4 separate regions of the Homo sapiens genome follow, and regions 1, 2 and 3 are each linked to region 4. Evidence: promoter capture Hi-C in 16 types of primary human blood cells and fetal thymus (Javierre and others, 2016). All regions are on one chromosome and are shown on one strand. The core of a region is centred on a gene start or on the middle of the fragment in contact, and the rest is flanking DNA. Distances in the headings are between cores, read along the strand shown.

Region 1 (5,382 bases), core at 65-2,564, 590 kb before region 4:
ACATTAGAAAGTAGGGTGGTGTGTATTGTATATGCACGGATAAATGTTGCTTTATTTATGTAAGCCTTAGCCCGGAAAAGTAGCCCTTGAGGAGAAGTAAAGATGAATTTCAAGGCGCTACCAAAATAATGGTTCATAGCATCATTATCATTTTCTCAAATCCTTGGAAATCTTTTCTGTAGAAACTCTCATGGCTGCTACATAAGATCAGAATTTAGGTAACTGGTTTCTCTGAACTTAAGAAAAACCATTCTAGGTCAGCCGAATAGTCCAAATGGTCAATACTTTATTTGGCATTTCTCAGACGGTGAAATCTACGGATAGATTGGTTGCTGTCTTAAAACATTGTGTTGTCCAAATCCCTCAGCAGTCTGGTAAGGTGTACCGTCTGTGAATTCAGCTCAACTTTTATGTTACCCTGTGCTGTGGTCAGAATGTTTCCCCTGAAGTTCATATAGTAAAATCTTATCACTCAAGGTGATGGTATTAAAAGGTAGGGTCTTTGGAGAGTTATCAGATCATGATGGCAGAGCCCTCATCAATAGGATTACTGCCCTATAAAAGAGGCCTAAGGAAGCTTGTTTGACCCTTCCGTCATGTGAGGACACAGCTCAAAGGCACCATCTATGAACCAGAGATCAAGCCCTCTCTAGACAACAAATCTGCCAGTGCCTTTATCTTAGACTTTCTAGCCTCCAAAATTGGGAGAACAAAAATCCTGTTGTTTATGAGCTACCTAATTTATAGTATCTTGAAGTTGTGGACCAGTGTCTTTTCAATGTTTTTGACCATGATCCAGAGTAAAAAACATCACAATCCCATACTTCCACACAAATAAAAAAAAGTTTCATAATTCTACCTACATGTGAGTCACTGGATATTTCCTATGCTATGCTATGCTATGCTATGCTATGCTATGCTATGCTATGCTATGCTATGCTATGCTATGCTATGCTATGCTATGCTATTCCCTACCATATTTCACTTTTAAATGCTTATCTCTACTCACAAAATGGCTTTCAAATTCACTAATGGGTTGGGATCTGCAGTTTGAAAAACACTGTAGTATGTATTCTTAAGTACCTGTCTATGTATAGGAGACATATCTGAGTTTGAGGTATAGGCATAGATTAAAAATCAGTATATAGGTAGTAAGTGGACAAAATGGGCTGGGGAGAGACTATAAAGTGAGAAGAGTAGAAGGCCAACAGTGTAGTTCTGGGGAAATGGCATGGAGGAAGCTCATGCCAGAGGAGAGTGTGCTATAGAAGCAATTGAATAGATTGTTTTGACAAAGAAGGAATAATGTTCAATGCTGCTAGGCAGTCAAAATAATCAATGCAGTTTCCATTAGATTAAGGATGTCTAAGTCACTGATCACCTTTGTGTAAGAAATGTCAGGGTGTTAAGGGGAAATATTAGATTTCTGTAGGTTGAAGAAAGAGTAGGAAGTGAGGAAATAGAAATAGAGACGGACAACTCCTTTAAGAAACTTGTCTCTGAAATAAAGGACTTATGTCAGTAGTATCTGGAGAAGAAAATAAGTGGTGGGATGGAAATACTATACTGTACCTTCTCTTATTTGTCATAATACTCTCTATTTCAAGGTCAGCACTAGCTAGGGCTAGCTCTAGGATTACAGAATTAAATGAGTAAATCCACATTGGCTTGATGCATTCTCTCTTGTGTGGTTATGTGGCCTTTCATTCTCGGTGTTTTTATGAACACACATACACACATATATATATACACACATATCTATATGTTAATATAGAAACTATATATATGTAGATGACCTATCTATCTAGCCCCTCTACTCTGAAGAGAACATATTTAGAAGAGTATATCAGCAAAGTTTCTAGGTTGATCCATATGCAGATACCCTAAAGTGCCCCTGGGATACCCCTAGCTATCACAGAATACTGGAGCTTTTGCTGAAGAATGCCCTAGTATAAGACATATAATACCACCAAGGGCTGCAAGTCTTCCTTCTGATATGATTCAAACCGTAGGCTATAGATGTAATTTCTTTCAGTGGCAGAAAAGTTATTCAAAGCTTTATTTGAACATGCCTTGGGTTTCAGCTTTAGGAGGTACAGAGTGAGAAAGTGAATATATTTCAGTTTCAAAATCTAGTTATCAACTATGTCAAGACACATAATTGCTCTATATTTAAATTACTGCCAATGATTAGCAATAACCTACAATCTCCTTGACATTTCTGTTAAGTATATTCTATGGTTTCTAAATAAAACCTACCAACCTTAGGACACATAGGTCAAGGAAATTTTATAATAAGGTCTCAATGATAAGATTATTTGCTCTAGAATCCAGCAGCCAGCTGAGCAGAGTACATATGTCAAACTATTTCCTCCCATTGGCCTTTGGTTAAGGATGGAGTGTTTTGTTTATAAGATACTTTGGGCTTTAAGGAGAACTATAGAACTATATCTGTTCTAAACTAGAAGTTGTTATAAATCATGATCTTCATTTTACATTGCTTAATTAATAGTGTGAGAGATTTAAGAGACATAGGTAGTTGTTGCTATTGAAAGTAAACTCTGACCATTTCCTAATTTCTTCTTTTCTGATTCTTCTCAAAATATTCACACTTTTTAAATATGGAAAGGTATTTTATACACAGAAAAGGCACTGTGTCAGACAAAGGGTCTGGTGCCTCAGCTTCGCAGCTCTTCCTAGAAATCCAAGATTGTTTTTTTTCCTAGGACTAGGAAGCCAAAAGTGTCACACGGTCAAAAATGCTTCCATCTACTGGTGAAACTCAGGAATACACTAACATTTCCCTGCCTGAAATGGTTAGTTGAGGACACAAAGCAACCCAAAGCGAGCGGAGCTTGGCCATGGAGCTCAGAAATTCAAAATAGTCAGTTCTTGCTGATGGTGAAGGTAAGTTCCAATCAACAAGCAGGCTATTCAGAGAGATGAAAGGAGGAGCAGGGGGTAAGATTAGAACTCTGGTTCCCCAAGGCTCTGTTCATGTATTCTCTCAAGGCCTTAAACCAGAAATGGAATGGCTCCAGAGGTCAACTGACCTTTTGCCTAATGTCCCCTAGTTGGGTCAGTTGCTCCCTCACAGTCAGTCACTTTAATTCATTCCTGTGGGTGAAAATACATGACTGTTTCCCTTTCTAACAGTCACAGAGGGTTGACTTGCCATGGTGAGCAGTCGCCAGATAGGACAATGGAATTCATCTCATTCCTGTGATGACTTTAGATATGAAATGCCAGGCTGCTTGGCCTAGGGGAAGGTGCTGTAAGTTATAGGCACTAAAGCCAACTCTCCCAGCCCCCTCTGCTCCTTTTGACAGTCTCCCTCTTGGGCTGTGATCTGGCTGAATTAATTCATAGCTGCCAGTTATGAGGACTTTATCTGCATTGTTAGCATTCCTTCTAACCTGCAGCCTCTGTTCATTTAATGATTATCTGATGGGGATTGATATTAAGTGAAGAGGAATGTTCAAATCACGCTGCCTTTGGCAAGTGGGAACTAAAATAACAGAATTTCAGTTTAGGAGGGAAATATTTGCTCACTAATATGAAATTTTTCTTAGTAGGATTGTGGAATGGAAGGGAAAATTCCAGAAAAATATTCTGGCAAAGCGGACTTGAATGGATGGTTCTCCAGTACTTTATTTATTTGGCCAAAAGATGAGGAAAAAAAGCAAAAAAGGAGGCAAAGAATAGGTAATATAGGAATAAACTTCTCCTAGCCATTTTTGGCCATTTTAGGCAAATATTCTCTACTTAGTCTCACTATTAAACTCAATTATACAATGTATTTGCATTAAACTAATTTTAGCAAGCGATAGTAAGAGTTTTTAGAAGACTCAGCTTTCAAAGAGGAGTTTTCTTAATGGACATATTTTTAAACAGATTTCTTGAATTCATAGCTTTCTCTCCAGAATCTCTGACAGGTGAGAGAGCCTCTGAAAGAATTGTATGGAAAGGAACAAAGCTCACACAAAGAATTTATCAATTTAGCGAATGCAGTTATGACTGCAGCTGACTTTCTTCAAAATGACATACTGCATGAGCACATAGACTCAAAAGCATCCTTTTCTACTGAAGGCCTACAGCAGGCTCACAGGCAGTAAGCAAGACAAAAAAGAAACTCAGGGGGACCAATGAGATTCCAAAGGGCAAAACTCCCAAGCGTCCTTCAGAGAGAGAGGTCAATTTCACAATAACTCAAAATATATTTATATCACGCTAAGCTGACAGCTGAGGCATTTACACTTTGTCTTTTCACAGGGCATGTAAGTAACTGTGGAAAGGCTTAAGTTTCCCTGCCTTAAATACGTTTCCAACATACTTGTGAAACACTCACCATGATAAGTCATGCCCATTTTAAAGTAAATCTAATCTATGTATATAAAAAATTATGGTGGTTCTTTCAGTGTCTTATGAAAAATGGGAAAGGGACCGGGCTGAGTTAGTGCTTTTTTTCTCGTCTTTGAAGGCAGATAGAACTTGAGAAGTCAATTACTACTGAGAGTGAAAGCCTAGAGACTGATGAAAGAACTCAGCACCCAATAGCCTTCCTTGAAGCTTCACTGAGCACTAGTGTGTTGGTGGGCTGGCCTGAGCCATGAGTGTCATTTGAGAAAGAGCAAAACTCTAATAATCAAACAGTAAGAGAGGAAAGGACATGAACCTTGGCCATGGCTGCCAGTTTTACCACTGAGGATACCCATCCCTTTCCCTGTGTTTCTGCCTGCCTGGGACCTCTCTGCATGTTACTTGAATTGCTCTCCCTATCATGTTCTTCTTTGGTTCATGCCTTTTATCTTGTCAGAGTTGCGAAGACTTTCTGATGAAGACATGCTCACCAACCGAGAAAAGTCCTTCCCAGGTCCGTGGAACAGAAAGAACTGAGCAGGAGGGCAGGGCTGGCTGGCGAGCCAAATGTTGTCATAGATGTGGGGCTGGAGAGGCTGAGCACTCCATCAGCAGCTGGAACCTTTGCTTTCTAACTACAGACTTTTAGAGAGCAGAAACCTCTCTCAAAGGTGGTGTCAGACAAGTGAGAGGTCCCTAGGGGACGCCTTTGGCAGCACCTTTAGATGAGATTGGATTTGCTTATTTACCTATCTCAGAGCCCTCTGGACTGGGGCCTCCTTTATGGCAGAGAAGCAGAGAACTTGTTCTATTTGATTTAAGGCCCCCATTTGCCAGAGAAGCAAGAAATCCAATCTCAGTCACAGTTCACAGCTTGGCCCTTCGTTTCCAGAGCTGCCTTGAAATTTAGGGGCTTAAGTACTGCTCTGAAAATAGAGAAAGAGTTCTTAGCCCTCCAAACAAGATGATTGCTATGTAAATGGTCTTTGTCTAAACCCTGTGGTCTATTTAGAGTGGGTATGT
Region 2 (5,253 bases), core at 611-3,110, 520 kb before region 4:
GTTGGCTGTGCTCAGCTGAGTTTGGATACAGACTTTGTGTGAAGTTGGCTTCACACATTTGCCATAATTCTGGCAGCAGTAGGCTACCCAGGACAAAGGCATAAATGAAAGCGAGCAAGTCCAAACTCATTAGAACACTTCAAGTCTTGATTATGTGACATCTGCTGACATTCTAATGGCCAAAACAGGACACATGGACGAGCTCAGAATCAGTGGAATAGGGAAATATGTGCTGCCTCTAGTAGGAAGAACTGCAGTGTCCTATTAGCAATGGGTGTGGTTGCAGGGAGGGGTGAAATATTGGGACCAATAATGAAATTTACCACAGGCTATGCTCTTAGTTACAATAACATTTTATACAAAGTTCACTCAATCCCTTTCTATTATACCCGCAAAAGACTCATTCAAAGCATTAGGCTCTAAAGCAAGAACCTAATTATCGATGTTGGGTCTGGATGCAACTCCAGAACTAAAAAGACAAGTTATCTGCCTCCCACACACCCAGCAATGATGAAACATGGGAAGAATAACTGCAATGAACTCTCCCATTCACAAAAAGAAAATAACACATAGCAGCCACTGGCTTATAGCGATTTTGAATACTACTGAACAAATATGGCCAAGTACTTTTTTTTTTTTTTTTTTTTTTTTTTGAGGCTAGGGAATATATCTTCACTAGGTTCTAGTTTGAAACTGGAATGGCTCTCCAGCCCATATTTTCCCTGTGGTGCTTGGTTGTGCCCTCTCTTTTTTTTCCATCTTTTTAAATCACTTCTGAAGAAGGCATTGAGTATATTTCATTCTTAGCAACTTAGCAGTTTTATCAGTCTACTTCCTGCCTGCAGAAAGTTGAGGTCTAGGAGTACTTTTTTTTTTTTCATCTTAGTTACTATTAGTCTCCTTTTACTCAGGCTGAAGGATGACACTTTTGTCAGGATAAATATCTCATACTATTTTGTTTTATTCTCTTCAATCCCATGGGCTAAAAGCTACATCCACAATACTATTTAGACTTGCACCTTCTCTTGAGACCTAATTACAGAGAGTTTGGGCATATCAAGCTTCTGTGGGACATACCCTTAATCTTTCTAGGAACACTTTGGCAGAGCAGAACTTTTTTCAGAAGTCATCACAAGGGATTTTAGTAGCCAAAATCTTAGTATGTCCTTTACCTTGAGGCCATGTCTTACTGATAGTGTCCTGGGTTTGGTCTTTTCCTTGAGTCTATGTCATAATGGTCACACCATTGACTTGAAAATTGTTTCCCATTCCAACATTTCAAGTGCTTTTTTGAGTCACTCAATCCTTCATAAATTCAGTTTGCACCTCAGCCAATTAATTTTCAGCTCTCTTCTAATATCTCGTTAAAGGCAGCTGGCAGCAGTCAGCTTACCACTGCAATATTCTGCCTTAAAACCTTGAAGTTCATTATGTTAATAGCAAACAATACTTTCATTAAATATTTTCCACTCTGTAACACAGGTTGCCATTTATCAGCATCATATAGCAGTTTTCTAACTACCAGTTCCCAATGCTTATGCCCTACCTCTTTTACCAATTTTTGGCTTAGTCAACCATTCCCACAATAATCATAACAAACTCTTCAGCTCCTGAAATAGCTTTGGAGCTATAACGGTGACAGGAGCATCTTTTGTTACTCATAACAAGTTCCTTTCAACCACATCTGAGTTTATATTAGTGAAGTAACTTTTAGAAAGCTCCTAAGGATGAGGGGCTGGTTGCCAGTGTAACATCACCCATGCGATCAGAGGGCTGCAACTTTCAGCCCCACCCCCGGACCTCCAGGGAAGAGAGAAACTGGAGGCCGAGTTAATCACCATTGGCCAATGATTTAACAAATCATTCCTATGTCATGAAGCCTACAGTAAAAACCCTAATGGAAGGGGTTCCAGGTTGCTGGAAGTGTGGCACCCCAGAGAGGGCATGTAACCCCCTTGCCAATACTTTGCCCTAGGCATCTCTTCCATCTGGCTGTTCTTGAGTTTTATCTTTTATAATAAAACATTAGAAAGGAAGCCTTAGAAAGGTAAATGCAAGTAAAGTAACTTCCCTAACTTTTGTGAGACAATCTAGCAAATTACCAAACCCAAGGAGGGGGTTGTAGGAAGCCCTGATTTATAGCCAGTTGGTCAAAAATACAGGTTACAACCTAGGACTTACAACTGGCATCTGAAGCGGTGGGCAGCTGTGTGGGACTGAGCTTTCTAACTTGTGATGGAGCTGATGCTAACTCCAGGTGGACAGCGTTAGAATGAATTGAATTAGATTGTAGGACACCCAGTTGGTATGACAGAGAATTGAGGAATTGCTTAATGGGAGAGAAAAACCCAGACACTTGGGTGTCAGATGTGAAATATTGAGAATAGAAAAACAGAGTGTTTCCCTTTCCTCTATTTGCTAGGCATCCAGTAGGCTACCTTTCTTAATAGCTTCCTTTCTAATGTCATTGACTTAGGGCTCTTAAGTGAGTTCTAGCCAATGGAATGTGACTGACAGTAATGCATGAGACTTCCAGGTCCACACACAAAAATATTCTAATGCCCAATTATCCATTCTTTCTTTCCTACTCACTTGGTGAACCAAAGCAAAATGAAATTGGGAGTAATGTATTGAAGATGAAGGAGACTCAAGATAAAAAAAAGCTTAGGTTCCTGAATCACCATTGAAAGAAGTGCTGCCACTGATGAAACACTCACTGTGGGCTGTTCATGAGACCATGTTTTTTTAATTTATGTATTTATTTTGCTCTTTCTATGTTGTTTTGTAAACAGAATGTAGCTGGAAATTCAATCTGATCTTTTATTTTCTTATAATATTGAGATTTACCCACTTTTATTTATTGGATTTTTAATATATTTGCAATTATTTATCCCATCATATTACACTTTTAGATGCCTTTTTTATTTGCCTCTTTTGTCTCCATTTTGCATGTTGTTCACTTATTTACATTGTGTATATTTCCAATCGCTAAAATAATAGATAAAAATTCCATTGCCTCCAAACCAACAGGTGAAAAGTAGCAGCATTTTCTCAGTGCAATTTGAAATTGTTTTCAATGCAATGAAATTGTTTTCCATTATTTTAGTAGTTACTTTTAAATATTTAAACAGATTTGCTTCAATATAAATTTGTGCAACAAGGCCTACAATTAATCAGCCTTTGTCTTTTTCTACTAATCACAATAGAGAGCTTTACATACTAAAACTACATATTTAAAACTAAATGTCCCTCCCTGCAGCAACACATTTTAGCTTTTCTCTTCATATTACAAAAATTTACTTTTTAGCAACAGTGTGTTAATTAGAATTACTTGTTTTATCAATTTCTGCCTATTGTTTTTTATCATGTGGTTTCCCTGGTTTCACATTCCTTCTGGCTTAACTTTATCTTTTAATAGTACTTTTAGTGAGGGCTATGGATGGTAAGTTATTGTGTTTGTATGTAGGAGATTGGTCAGGGTGGTGGGAAAAATTATAGGGAAAGACAAAAACCTTCTTGGAAGGCTGGGAGGTTTTGCAAAAGCTTGGAAAGAGAATTTAGCTGAAGGCAGTTAAATTCTCTTAAGGGCAAAGGGTAGATAACAAGGGAATGTAAAGAAACTTATCTAAATAAATTGATTTAGTTATGTCTCCGGAAACCAACCTTTGATCATTCGCATGCAGGACTGCTGTCTACTCAGGGGGTCGACAATGTTAATTGCCCACAAATTGTGTTTGCTCCAAGCCTTTGTCATTAAATCTGTACTAAATAAATAAATAACGGCTCAGGCTTATTGTGGCTGCACTCTCATCAGTGGTGCTAAGTGGTGCAGTCCCCTAGCCACACTGTCAGGTAAAATACCTGTGTCTGCGTACTCCTTTCATCCATCACTCGACCAGAGTCTGCAGGATGGACCCAGCATTTGTATACATAGTATGTTTTTATTTTATGCCATTATTTAGCCTTTGCTCTTTAATGATAGTTCATTTGTATATACAATTCTACATTGCCAGTTATTTTTCTTCTGCACTTTGGAGCTATTATCTTACTGTATTTTGGCATCTATCATTGCCAGTAAAAAACCTGTCTCATGTGTGAAGGTTATCCCTTTATTAGTAATCTGTCTTTTCCTGTCTGGCAACTTTTAAAGAATTCTCCCTGCCACTGCTTTCCTATAGTTTCACAAGAATGTACCTTGATGTGGATTTATTTTTATTGATATTGGTACTTAACGTGTACTTTTGCTATGAAGGTTAACATTTTTTAATTCTCTTTAATTATAGAAAAATTGAAGCTACTATCTCTTTGGGTGTTACTTCCCTCCGTTTATTTTATTATTTTCTTCTGGAATTCCTATTAGATGTATGCTGTAGCCTCTTCATCCACCCTTGTTTCCTCTTTATTCCTTCTTCCTATTCTTCATCTTTTTGTTTCCTCATCTTCACTGTTAGTGATGTCTTCAATATAACTTACTCTTATGTATGCAACGTAGAGTTTAACCAACTTATCAAGTACTTTTAAGTCAATAACTATATACTATTTCATACTATTTCATCCCGATTTCTAATTAGATCTTCCTATATTCATCTCTTCTTCTTAAATTTCTCTGTTTGATTCATAAACTTTTGATCATCTTAAAATATTTCTTTCACCTAATTCTCAGAGTACTCTGTGTGTTAAAGTCTTTGTCAAACTGCTACACAAAATTAATTTCACCCGAAATGAAATATTCTTATGGTTACATTTGTTTGTTTTTCTTAACATTAGATGTTTTAATGTATTTTGGAATTTTGCTGTTTGTGTAATTTGGGGAGGACATTTTGTATGTGTCTTTTTACTTTCTGCCTTCTAGTTAAACTCTAGACTAGATAAAGACAATAAGTTAGTATTGAGGATATTACTATCCCTGGTTAGAGATTGTGCAGTTATTTCCACTCATTATGTGGGTTTGCCATAATGGCATTTTGGGGCCGTTGTGAGACCATCTCCATTGTGTGGATTATGATGATATCACAGATCCAGTCACTAAGCAGTGGGATTCGGTGTCCCATTTACTAATCACTGTCTGGTTTGTTACGCTCTGCTCTTGTCTTCCAGCAATGATAGGCCTGTAGCTTGCTCAAAGCTGCAGACTCATGCTGGTCTAGTATTACTTCCATCTTCTGAGTACAGAATGACTTCAAGCACCTTCAAGGGTAGTGTTTCCCTGACCTGCATGAAGCAGTTTTAATCTTGTGTATCCTGCAGGAGCTA
Region 3 (4,728 bases), core at 1,598-4,097, 680 kb before region 4:
TATTTCTGACTTTATGGGAATGGAACTTTTCATTGTATGGAACATTCAAAAAGCTGCTGAATGCCAGAGTTCAAAGTGATTTTGCAAATGTCAATTCCTTTAATAATCTTTGAGACCTTAAGAAATTGCTGATGACTTCTACGTCTTGCATCTAACTTCTTTTTCTTTTGCTTCAGTTGTGGAAAACATGTACAGTTGCCTCAGTAAAAGGAATGTGTGGAGTTTGTGGTTTATGCTGTATTCATGCCATGGTAAGAAGAGAGACCCTGTTTATTGCTAGAGGAGACATATAAGGAAAATAAAAGGGGGAAATATCATTTAATAGATAAACAGCCATGCCCAACTTGACATTTTTCTAACCCCTTCAAGGACACACATTCCTGAAGGTCTGTGAGTCAGTACTTAGAATACATTTGGAAGATTAACCATTAACTTGCCTTAGGGAATTTTCTGCTATGCTGACCCATGGAAACTTAGGCCTTTCCAATTCTCATTCATTCATAATTAATTTATTCCACACTTACTGAATTCTTTGTATCAGACACTGTTCTAGGTTCAGATGATAATCAGAGGAAAGCCACAATTCTCAAAGAGTTCATGGTCCAGTCCTGATGATTAAGCAAAGAAACAGGCAAAACAGTTTTCTGATTACAGATGAGAAAGATCCAACTTAGTCACAGTGTGGGAGTTGGGAGAATTCAGGCAGAACATCAGGAAATTCTGGGAGGAAGCAGCCCCTGAATTGGGTCTTCAGGGATGAGTAAGAGTTAGGCAGAAGACGTTAACATTGTTACATGTGCACAGTGCCAAGATAGGCAGTGGGAAAGATATATACACATTCTGAGATCAGGGAGAAGCATGCTTATTAAATAATCATTTAGAAAAAGTGGGACTCAAAATGAGGACCTGCTTCCCATTGGGATCAGTTCTGTAAAGCTCAGGTCTTAAGTATATAATAATCCCATTATCTCACTCTGTTTATTTCTATTGTAATAGTCTTAATACTTGCCTTGTACCAATGGTTTATACATTGTTTTCATGTGTATTAAACTATTTAATCTTCATAACAACCTGGTGAGATTGGTATTATAATTACTTTATAGATGAAGAAATGAATCAAAGAGACATCAAGTGACTGTCCAAGGTCACATAGCCTAAATGTAGCTTTATTGAGCTTCTAAATAGTTATTGATTGACTTGATATATATTCATTCAACACTGTAAGTATGTATCTGTGTATTTACTCAATGCACATTTATGGGGCACATACTGTATGCCAGGCAGGCACTGTTCTAGATTCTGGAGATACCACAGTGAACAAAGATAATTTCAGATTATGATCAATGCTGTAAAAATAGACACAGTCTTAGCGTGACTGGAGGCAGGAATCACATTTTAGATAATTGCTTTTATTTTCTTGGCTCTCCAATGTTTATCTAGGGTTTCTTTCTGGGTTTTTATCTAATGTATGGTATTCAGTGGAAATCTGCCAAGTGCTCCCATGAGTAAATCACCATCTGAGATTCTTCTGCTATTTTCATCAATGTATAAGAAACAATAAGAGCTCCCATTTATTGAGAGACCTGCATGTGCCAGCCTCTTCGATGGATATTTTTTTATTAGTCTCATTTATGGGGTGCTGGTAGAGTCTATCAAAGCCCCAGGATTGTTTCTCAGCTGATCTTTTATTACTTGCAGGGTGCATTAATCACCTTCTTCCTCCCAGAGGCAGGGGACAAATCCCAGGATAACTCTCTGTTCCAGCTTCTTAGATGTCCTGCTAATAGCCATCCCTGCTGACAGCAACCAGCAAAGGCGGCTGCCCTACAAAAACATCCTTTCAAAGTATTTTTCTCTAGAGCTTTTTTTTTTTTCCCCCAAACCTTAAATGTTGGCGAGAATGCCTCACTATTTATTATTAAAAACATGTCTGGGGATGATGATAGTGTGTTCGTATGTTCAACAACCAAAGCTAACCACAAGTAGGTAGTCATACAGGATACTCTCCAAGCATGTCATAAGGCCTCACTGATCCCAAAATATTATCAGCACCATCAGCCTGCAATCACACTGCCTTCCTCTCTGCCATGACTGATTCTTTAATATTAGAGTAAAAGTCCAAAGACAGAGCTTTGGACAGGGCCCTAGAGGAGTATGATGGCCCCAAGAGGGAAGGAGGCCTCCCTGCTCCATCACAGCAATCTGGACGTCTTCATCAGTTAGTGGATTATTACTTGGAAATCTAAAAGAACTGGGCTTAGATGGATTAAAGATGGGCAAATAAACCATTCCAGGATGGATTCAACAGTTGCAGTCCTGGAGGAGGTGCCAGTGTAACAGCACTGGGCCAGGAGGGGAACCTGAGTGGTAACAATTCCCTCCTGCTCATCCTCTTTGTTCCTTTTTATGTAGGGTTAGCCTTTGAGACTCCGACAGCATCATGGCTTTGAAGAACATGACACTGCCCCCTGCACATAGAGCCTCTTCCATTTACTCCCTCTTGGGCTTTGGGCAAGCCACTTAAGCTTTTTGAGCCTGTTTCTCCATCTTTAAAATGGAATTAAAATATTTACTTTTTATTTGAGATTGAAAGCCTCTCAATCTTTTTTGAGACTGAAATAATAGATGATGTCTTAGCCTCTTTAAAGAGATGTGTGTAAGTCTGCTTCACCACAGGCAATTGCTGCACGGAAGCTCAGCAATGTGTGGTATTATGGAAATGCTTCAGAAGCAATCCTTCTGGTTCTCAAGGATTCACAAATAAGACTCAACAGAGTACCTCTGCTTTGTTTGCAACAACAGCCTGACTTGAAGTGATCCACTGACTTGAAGTATTTATACTTCTCCAAACAAGGGATGTGATTTGGTTTTTGCCTATTTGATATGAAACATGCTGGTATGCCAGCATTTGAGCCAGTTTTGAGTTGGGGGCCTTTCTAATACATTTATAGCATATATAGGCCTAGATAGGATTACTTTGGTTTATGCCATGATTCCTGTTTCAATCAGCAATAGCAGGAATTATTCCACCCAAAGTCTAAGTTTGAGCCACTTTTTCTTGGGACTGTTACCATGATAGGTATTGAGAGGCTAAAAGATGTGTTAGTGGATACAGTAGGGGCATCATAGAGCATAGCTACATATATATGTAGACAAGCTCTACAAAACTGAAGCTTAATTAATGGCCTAAAGACTAAACTGTGGGGTATTAAGGAATATCAGCCACTCTAGAGCAATGTGGTAGGCAGCCAGAATCTCAAAAGGCCCCAGTGTGGCCACATCAGTTCGGGATACTCACATATGCCTAGAGAAGAGAGCACTGCTTTGAAGCATCCAGTCACAGTTCCATGCGGACAACACCGTGGGCAAGGTCTTTTTGACTCTGAAGGATCGTTGTCATTTATATACAATGCATGCATATGATTACACATACTAATGAGAAGAGAGGGACAGCAGCTGAGTGTCCCAAGTGTTTATCATGGTTAAATTGTTTATTTGATGTCACTTAAAATAACTGGCTTCTAGACATAAATAGCTCGGATGAAGATATAAGACCTGATAGCTGTTTTGGCTCTTTCCCCAAGTGATAAAGTTCATAGTGAAATGGCTCCAGTTGACTTTTTAGAGAAATACATAGCTGCATTTGTGAAAAACAGGAAGTTAACTGCAGAGCCTCTCAATTTATTTCTCTTACATCTTTAGAAAAAAGAACCTCACAAGTTGTAAAACTGTGGGAAAAAAATATCCTTTTTTGAGTGATGTGGGATGGGATAAGATCTGGATCCTATGTCCCAGTAGTAAGGAAGCCAAGTTTTAGGACAACTTTAATTTTGTTGTGAGTGTTGTGTTTGGGTTCTTTTTCTCATGGCTATGGCTGTGTCTTTTGAAGAGAAAACCCATGAGGACTGGCCAGTGATCCAAAGAATCACATGTGTTGCCAGCTTCTTTTGTAGCAGCCTCCCAGCCTTTGCTATTTTCCAAGTGGCTAATCCCACTGATTTTAATGACATCTCCCTTCCCCCAAATCAGTTTAACTTGAAAGAGCTCTTCAATAATGCTTGACAAATCAGAGATTTGGTGAAAAATCTGCGATTGTCAGAAATTGACTTTATCATGGAAAATTCTTATTGACAGTCTTCTGGGGGTACATGATCCAAGAGGCAGTGCAGTTTTCTATCACCTCTGATATGAAGCAGCAAGAAGAGATTTGCTATTTCTGGCTCCTAGGTTCCTAAGCTATTCCAAGGATTTTCTGCTTATCCTTCTCTTGAAATGATATGAATACTGTCCTTGGCTCATGAATCCATCCCATTGCTATGTGGTACAGCTTTCTTGGTGACTTAGAAAAATAAGTCATAAGAACACTTCTAGAATAAATCATCTCGGTTTTGTCTTTCACTGAAGACAGTCAACACTGGTCTATTCTAACAGGCTAGTAGTATGGTGGTAAAAAAAACTTGGTACCTGTATTAGTCCATTCTCATGCTGCTATGAAGAAATACCTGAGGCTGGGTAATTTATAAAGAAAAGAGGTGTAATTGACTCAGTTCTGCATGGCTGGGGAGGCCTCAGGAAACTTAAAATCATGGCAGAAGGCACCTCTTTGCGGCGCAGCAGGAGAGAGAATGAGTGCCAAGAGAATGAAGACCCTTATAAAACCATCAGATCTTGTGAGAACTCACTGTCTCCAGAACATCATGGGGGAAACTGGCCCTAGGATTCAATTAT
Region 4 (5,486 bases), core at 2,673-5,172:
CAAAAGAGATGGAGAAAGCCTGATTTCACATGGCTCTTCCTTAAAAGCAACAAAGGACTTTTCCCGGAAGCCTTCAGCAAACCTCGTCAGATTTGAATCACATGCCAATTCCTAAATCAGTCACTGGCAGGGAAGTGGGAAAAAGGGGAGGAGGTGTTTACCCTTAACCAATATGCCTACCCCTGCCCACTGAGATCAATTCCATAAAAGTATTGCTTCAGTTCTTTGAAGAGGAGTACAATGTTTGTGAGTCACTCACCACATTTACCCACCAAGAGCTAAGGGATAACTGAGTAAAATGGTAGAGCTGGTAGGAAAATGGTGAGTAGTCCCGTCCTTCTGTGCCATAATTGACTTGTACACAAAGAGATTTGGAAATTTAAACATAAGAACTCTCTCTTCCCAAGCCCAGGGCTTTGGGCACTTCAAGTCTGGTCCTTGCCTGGGCACAGTGGCTCACGCCTGTAATCTCAGCAATTTGGGAAGCCAAGGAGGGTGGATCACCTGAGGTGATGAGTTTGAGACCAGCCTGGCCAACATGGCGAAACCCCAACTCTACTAAAAAATACAAAAATTAGTTGGATGTAGTGGCACACGCCTGGAATCCCAGCTACTCAGGAGGCTGAGGCAGGAAAATCGCTTGAATCTGGGAGGCAAAAGTTGCAGTGAGCTGAGATTGTACCACTGCACTCCAGCCTGGGAGACAGAGCAAGACTCCATCCCACCCCCCACCAAAAAAAAATTCTGGTCTTTACATGTGAAAAAATAAAAGCTAATTTTTAAAAACTAAATAATAAAGAGTGTTAGGTGATAAGTTTTATGATAGAGATAATGTGTGCTTTAAAACACACAGCATAAAACAGATGGAAAACACCTCATGGAGAAGGGAGAGCTTGAATTGGTGTTTGATTGAAGGACAAGAAAAATCTGTTGGTAACTTCCTCCTGGCTCTGACCTCTGATGCAGTTAAAGTAAAGCAACTTAGAATTATGATCTAGGGAACATATTCAGAGAGAAATGAATTTATGATGTCTTCAATTTGAAGATGCTATGATTTTAGACTATTCTAGAATACAATGATTTTTCATTGCTTCACACTTGTAAGAAATGTTCCACTACTGAAAATTTGCAACACTTAAAAAATTCCTACACAAAATCACAGCCCACCTTGCTGTTCTATGCTAAATAAACAAAATATTTTTTCTCAATTATGTTGCTCTCCTTAATTACACGCAATTTTAAAACTAGCTGTAACTGACAGCCCTTTCCTCACACTTACTGCCAATGTATTTAGGTCAATCCCACCTCCAATTAGAGAAACTTAGAAAAAGGAAATCCTACGGTGAAATGCCATATGCCTTACAATTTTCAGTAACTAATCCTCAAGGATGACAACTTGGCAAAAAAGAGAACTGGACCAGCTCCCTGAAAGGTCCATCACTTCGGCCCATGTTAATTGATTGCCTTAAAATCACAGTGCTTCCAGGTTGTAGAGACACACTCAAAATGGACTATTGCCCTCACATTAAAGGGGATAGGTTTTCTTTTCCCTTTTCCCATCCCTGCTTCTCTCAAAGCTGCACAGAGGTATATGAGGTTTGGGGAATATTTGCAGCACATGTTGGCTGGCAAGAATGTGGGTGAATTCCTGTTAAGGGGCGCAGACACTCCCTCTTCTATGACCTTTCCTTTCCACCCAGAACAACTGAAGTATCATGATAAGAGGAAGGGCTTTGTGTTTGAGATAAGCAGCTCCTATACCTGTCAGCTTTCTCTAATAAGAAAGCTCTTTCCTGCCACCGTATAGGTCACCTTCTTATTGGTAAAGCATGATGAAGTTTGGAAACTGTTGTCCTTGTTTTGTTGAAAGAAGCCAAGTTCCAAGAAATCTGCAGAGGCATTCCTACAATCCCTCAGCCATGGCAGCATGAATCCTGAAGGGGCAGTGAGTGCTGGTTTCTACTCTGTCTGCACAGCTAAGCCTAGGGGAGATAATCTTTTCATACAAGATGCATTCTGCTTTTGTGGGCCTCTTGCAGCCCTCAAGCCCCCATCTGATTTGTACACAATGATCCAGTGGGCCAGAGGAGCCCAGAGCCATGAGCGGCCCATCCCTCCAAGAACTATTTCTGACTGTCCAGTATCATGGAGCAAGTGGAAAGAAGAAAAAAAAAACCCAATTACTTTTCGAAGAGCAAGATGAATGCTGTAGAAGGAGAAGGAAGGGGAGGGAGATGGATGGGTGCCGATTCCAGAATCTTCAGATCTGCTTGGATGAATCATTACCTATGATTTGCGGGACAAGAATCTGATTTTATTCATCAACCAGTAGAAACTTTTCTTTCTGCCTCCCAACATCTGAAATCCAACAAACATGTGCCTTAGGAACATACCGGTCATCTTTTAGAGGCATTTTATATACATATTGAGTAACTAGAAAACACTCTTTCCGTAATACACACACACACACACACACACACACACCATCTTGTCATACAACACTCCCACGCAAGAAAAGCGAAACTGCTGTTTGATGAATGTAAACACTTGGCTGTTTGCAGCAGTCGGGAGTCCTGCCAGGTTTAAGTGCTAAGATGGGAGGTGAACCCCAGGGGTTTCCCCCTGCCCGTGCTGAGATCCTTATTTGGTCAAGCTTCTACCTATGCCCTGGCCTCGGAGCGAGCCCGATAGCGCTGGATCACAGCAGAGGGAGCGAGGCGGCTGACGTCCCATCCCGAAGAGATGAATGGAATTCCAGGAAGCTAGAGTCATGCTGGCTTGGGACAGTGGCTTGGAGACCAGACTTCAATGACAGAAGCACTAGGCAGCGGCACTCATGGCAATGTGTGCACCCACAGAAATGTAACCCACACCTCGGGTTCAGGAGCCGAAAAATGAAAAGAACGTTTAGGGAGGAAAAAGGGAAATACAATAATAGGCAGAGAGTAATTTATTACTCTATGGGTCTGCTCTGTAAATAGCTGAAGACTCTGGAGCCAGATGGTTCTGCAAATTCTCCAAACAGGAGTCACGTTAAGAAGCACGAGTGGGCACAAAAACTGTTTTTCAAGACACAATTTCAATTTGGCTTGTGGAAACTGGATACGAGTAAGTTTCCTTAAAATTCGAGTAGAAAGCAGCTGTCCTCCCCGGGCCCCTTGATGAGAATACGCACACCGCCCCCAAGCGGCCGGCCGAGGGAGCGCCGCGGCAGCGGGAGAGGCGTCTCTGTGGGCCCCCTGGCAGCCGCGGCAGGAAAGGGCCCGAAGGCAGCGAAGGCGAACGCGGCGCACCAACCTGCCGGCCCCGCCGACGCCGCGCTCACCTCCCTCCGGGGCGGGCGTGGGGCCAGCTCAGGACAGGCGCTCGGGGGACGCGTGTCCTCACCCCACGGGGACGGTGGAGGAGAGTCAGCGAGGGCCCGAGGGGCAGGTACTTTAACGAATGGCTCTCTTGGTGTCCCCTGCGCCCCGTCGGCCCATTTTTCTTTTTACAAAACGGGCCCAGTCTCTAGTATCCACCTCTCGCCATCAACCAGGCATTCCGGGAGATCAGCTCGCCCGAAAGCCCCTGCGCCACCCCGCGGGCCCTCCTAGGTGGTCTCCCCAGCCCCGTCCCTTTTCGGGATGCTTGCTGATCACCCCGAGCCCGCGTGGCGCAAGAGTACGAGCGCCGAGCCCGTGCGCGCCAAGGCTGCGTGGGCGGGCACCGACTTTTCTGAGAAGTTCTAGTGCTCCCAAGCCCCGACCCCCGCCCCCTTCACTTTCTAGCTGGAAAGTTGCGCGCCAGGCAGCGGGGGGCGGAGAGAGGAGCCCAGACTGGCCCCCACCTCCCGCTTCCTGCCCGGCCGCCGCCCATTGGCCGGAGGAATCCCCAGGAATGCGAGCGCCCCTTTAAAAGCGCGCGGCTCCTCCGCCTTGCCAGCCGCTGCGCCCGAGCTGGCCTGCGAGTTCAGGGCTCCTGTCGCTCTCCAGGAGCAACCTCTACTCCGGACGCACAGGCATTCCCCGCGCCCCTCCAGCCCTCGCCGCCCTCGCCACCGCTCCCGGCCGCCGCGCTCCGGTACACACAGGTAAGTCGCCCCCGGCGGCCGCCGAGGACCAAAGCTGCCCGGGACATCCACCTGGAGCGCTGAGGCTTCAGTCCCTCTGGTGGACCCCGGAACCTACACTCTCCCCGCTCGCCTACCCCAGCCCGCTCCTCTCAGCCGCTGGAGGACTCTTCAGGGCAAGGCTCCAGAGCCATCCTCTCCAGCCTTGAGGTTCACAAACCAACTCATCAGGACACCCCAAGATTTCCTTACTCTCTGAAGTCCTCCTTAAGCCTTTGTATCAGCACTCCAGGGAAGAGTCTGTACTTCCCCTGCCCTCCCTGCAACCCCAAACTACAGTTCCTGATCTTGCTCACCTTCGACTTCCCAAAAGCCCCCAAATTGTTGGTCTTGCGCCCCCCACACTTTAAAACCAGCATCTCTTTCCTCCACCTCTCTCTCTCTCTCTCTCTCTCTCTCTCATGCTCTCTGGAAAGTAATCCTGTTGTCCTTCATTTCAGCAAACGCGGGGTCAAAGAGGGATGGTCCCGGCCCTGTCCCCATGCCCAGCCCCGTTTCTGCGCACCGTCCCTCCCTGCCTAGCTGATCTCTGACCCTCGGCTCTTGTGCTTCCTGCTACAGGATCCCTGCTGGGCACCAACAGCTCCACCATGGGGCTGGCCTGGGGACTAGGCGTCCTGTTCCTGATGCATGTGTGTGGCACCAACCGCATTCCAGGTGAGTTTGTGTGGCACCTTTAGGGGAAGGAGGGACAAGGAAGAGGTGCTGGCTATCCCAGGTGTGCCCCCTCACGTGCTGTCCTCTCCCTCTTGAGCCTGACTGGACATCAGGACGCAGCTTCACTCTGATCCTGGTATTTATTCACCTCTTTCAGTGGTTGCCAGGAGTTTTCACCCCAACCCTTTGTCTCCACCCCTAAGGACTCAGCCCCCTACTGCTGGTCCCAGCCTAGAAAGCTCACTTTGTGTTCTCTCCTGTCTAACAGAGTCTGGCGGAGACAACAGCGTGTTTGACATCTTTGAACTCACCGGGGCCGCCCGCAAGGGGTCTGGGCGCCGACTGGTGAAGGGCCCCGACCCTTCCAGCCCAGCTTTCCGCATCGAGGATGCCAACCTGATCCCCCCTGTGCCTGATGACAAGTTCCAAGACCTGGTGGATGCTGTGCGGGCAGAAAAGGGTTTCCTCCTTCTGGCATCCCTGAGGCAGATGAAGAAGACCCGGGGCACGCTGCTGGCCCTGGAGCGGAAAGACCACTCTGGCCAGGTCTTCAGCGTGGTGTCCAATGGCAAGGCGGGCACCCTGGACCTCAGCCTGACCGTCCAAGGAAAGCAGCACGTGGTGTCTGTGGAAGAAGCTCTCCTGGCAACCGGCCAGTGGAAGAGCATCACCCTGTTTGTGCAGGAAGACAGGGCCCAGCTGTACATCGACTGTGAAA

What was found. The method cuts DNA at HindIII sites, captures the fragments that hold promoters and counts their contacts. A CHiCAGO score of 5 or more calls a contact.
Region 1: a fragment that was not itself captured here is called in contact with the fragment with the promoter of THBS1 in region 4 in 1 of 17 cell types (endothelial precursors); the score reaches 6.4 in endothelial precursors.
Region 2: a contact is called between a fragment that was not itself captured here and the fragment with the promoter of THBS1 in region 4, in 1 of 17 cell types (M1 macrophages). The highest score is 5.2, in M1 macrophages.
Region 3: a fragment that was not itself captured here is called in contact with the fragment with the promoter of THBS1 in region 4 in 1 of 17 cell types (endothelial precursors); the score reaches 7.2 in endothelial precursors.

Annotation. Positions count from the first base shown.
Region 1 is chr15:38,988,559-38,993,940 of GRCh38, forward strand. All of the region lies in intron 2 of LOC105370777 (a long non-coding RNA gene), which reads right to left. Among named protein-coding and RNA genes, the nearest start is that of LINC02915, 260 kb to the right of the region's middle. The HindIII fragment of the contact is 1,479 bases long and covers 576-2,054 here.
Region 2 is chr15:39,058,439-39,063,691 of GRCh38, forward strand. All of the region lies in intron 2 of LOC105370777 (a long non-coding RNA gene), which reads right to left. Among named protein-coding and RNA genes, the nearest start is that of LINC02915, 190 kb to the right of the region's middle. RefSeq lists an enhancer at 3,476-4,028. The HindIII fragment of the contact is 1,602 bases long and covers 1,060-2,661 here.
Region 3 is chr15:38,894,130-38,898,857 of GRCh38, forward strand. It overlaps a transcript of LOC105370777 not described here. Among named protein-coding and RNA genes, the nearest start is that of LINC02694, 200 kb to the left of the region's middle. RefSeq lists an enhancer at 1-738. The HindIII fragment of the contact is 648 bases long and covers 2,524-3,171 here.
Region 4 is chr15:39,577,157-39,582,642 of GRCh38, forward strand. THBS1 (thrombospondin 1) reads left to right here and starts at 3,923. Exons shown (of 22, transcript NM_003246.4): 1 at 3,923-4,072; 2 at 4,673-4,768; 3 at 5,037-5,486. The coding sequence starts at 4,702. It overlaps LOC124903470, which reads left to right and starts at 2,651. Exons shown (of 1, transcript XM_047433405.1): 1 at 2,651-3,838. The coding sequence starts at 3,162. The coding sequence ends at 3,596. RefSeq lists an enhancer at 3,014-3,751 and silencers at 3,174-3,403, 3,414-3,463. The HindIII fragment of the contact is 3,699 bases long and covers 2,652-5,486 here.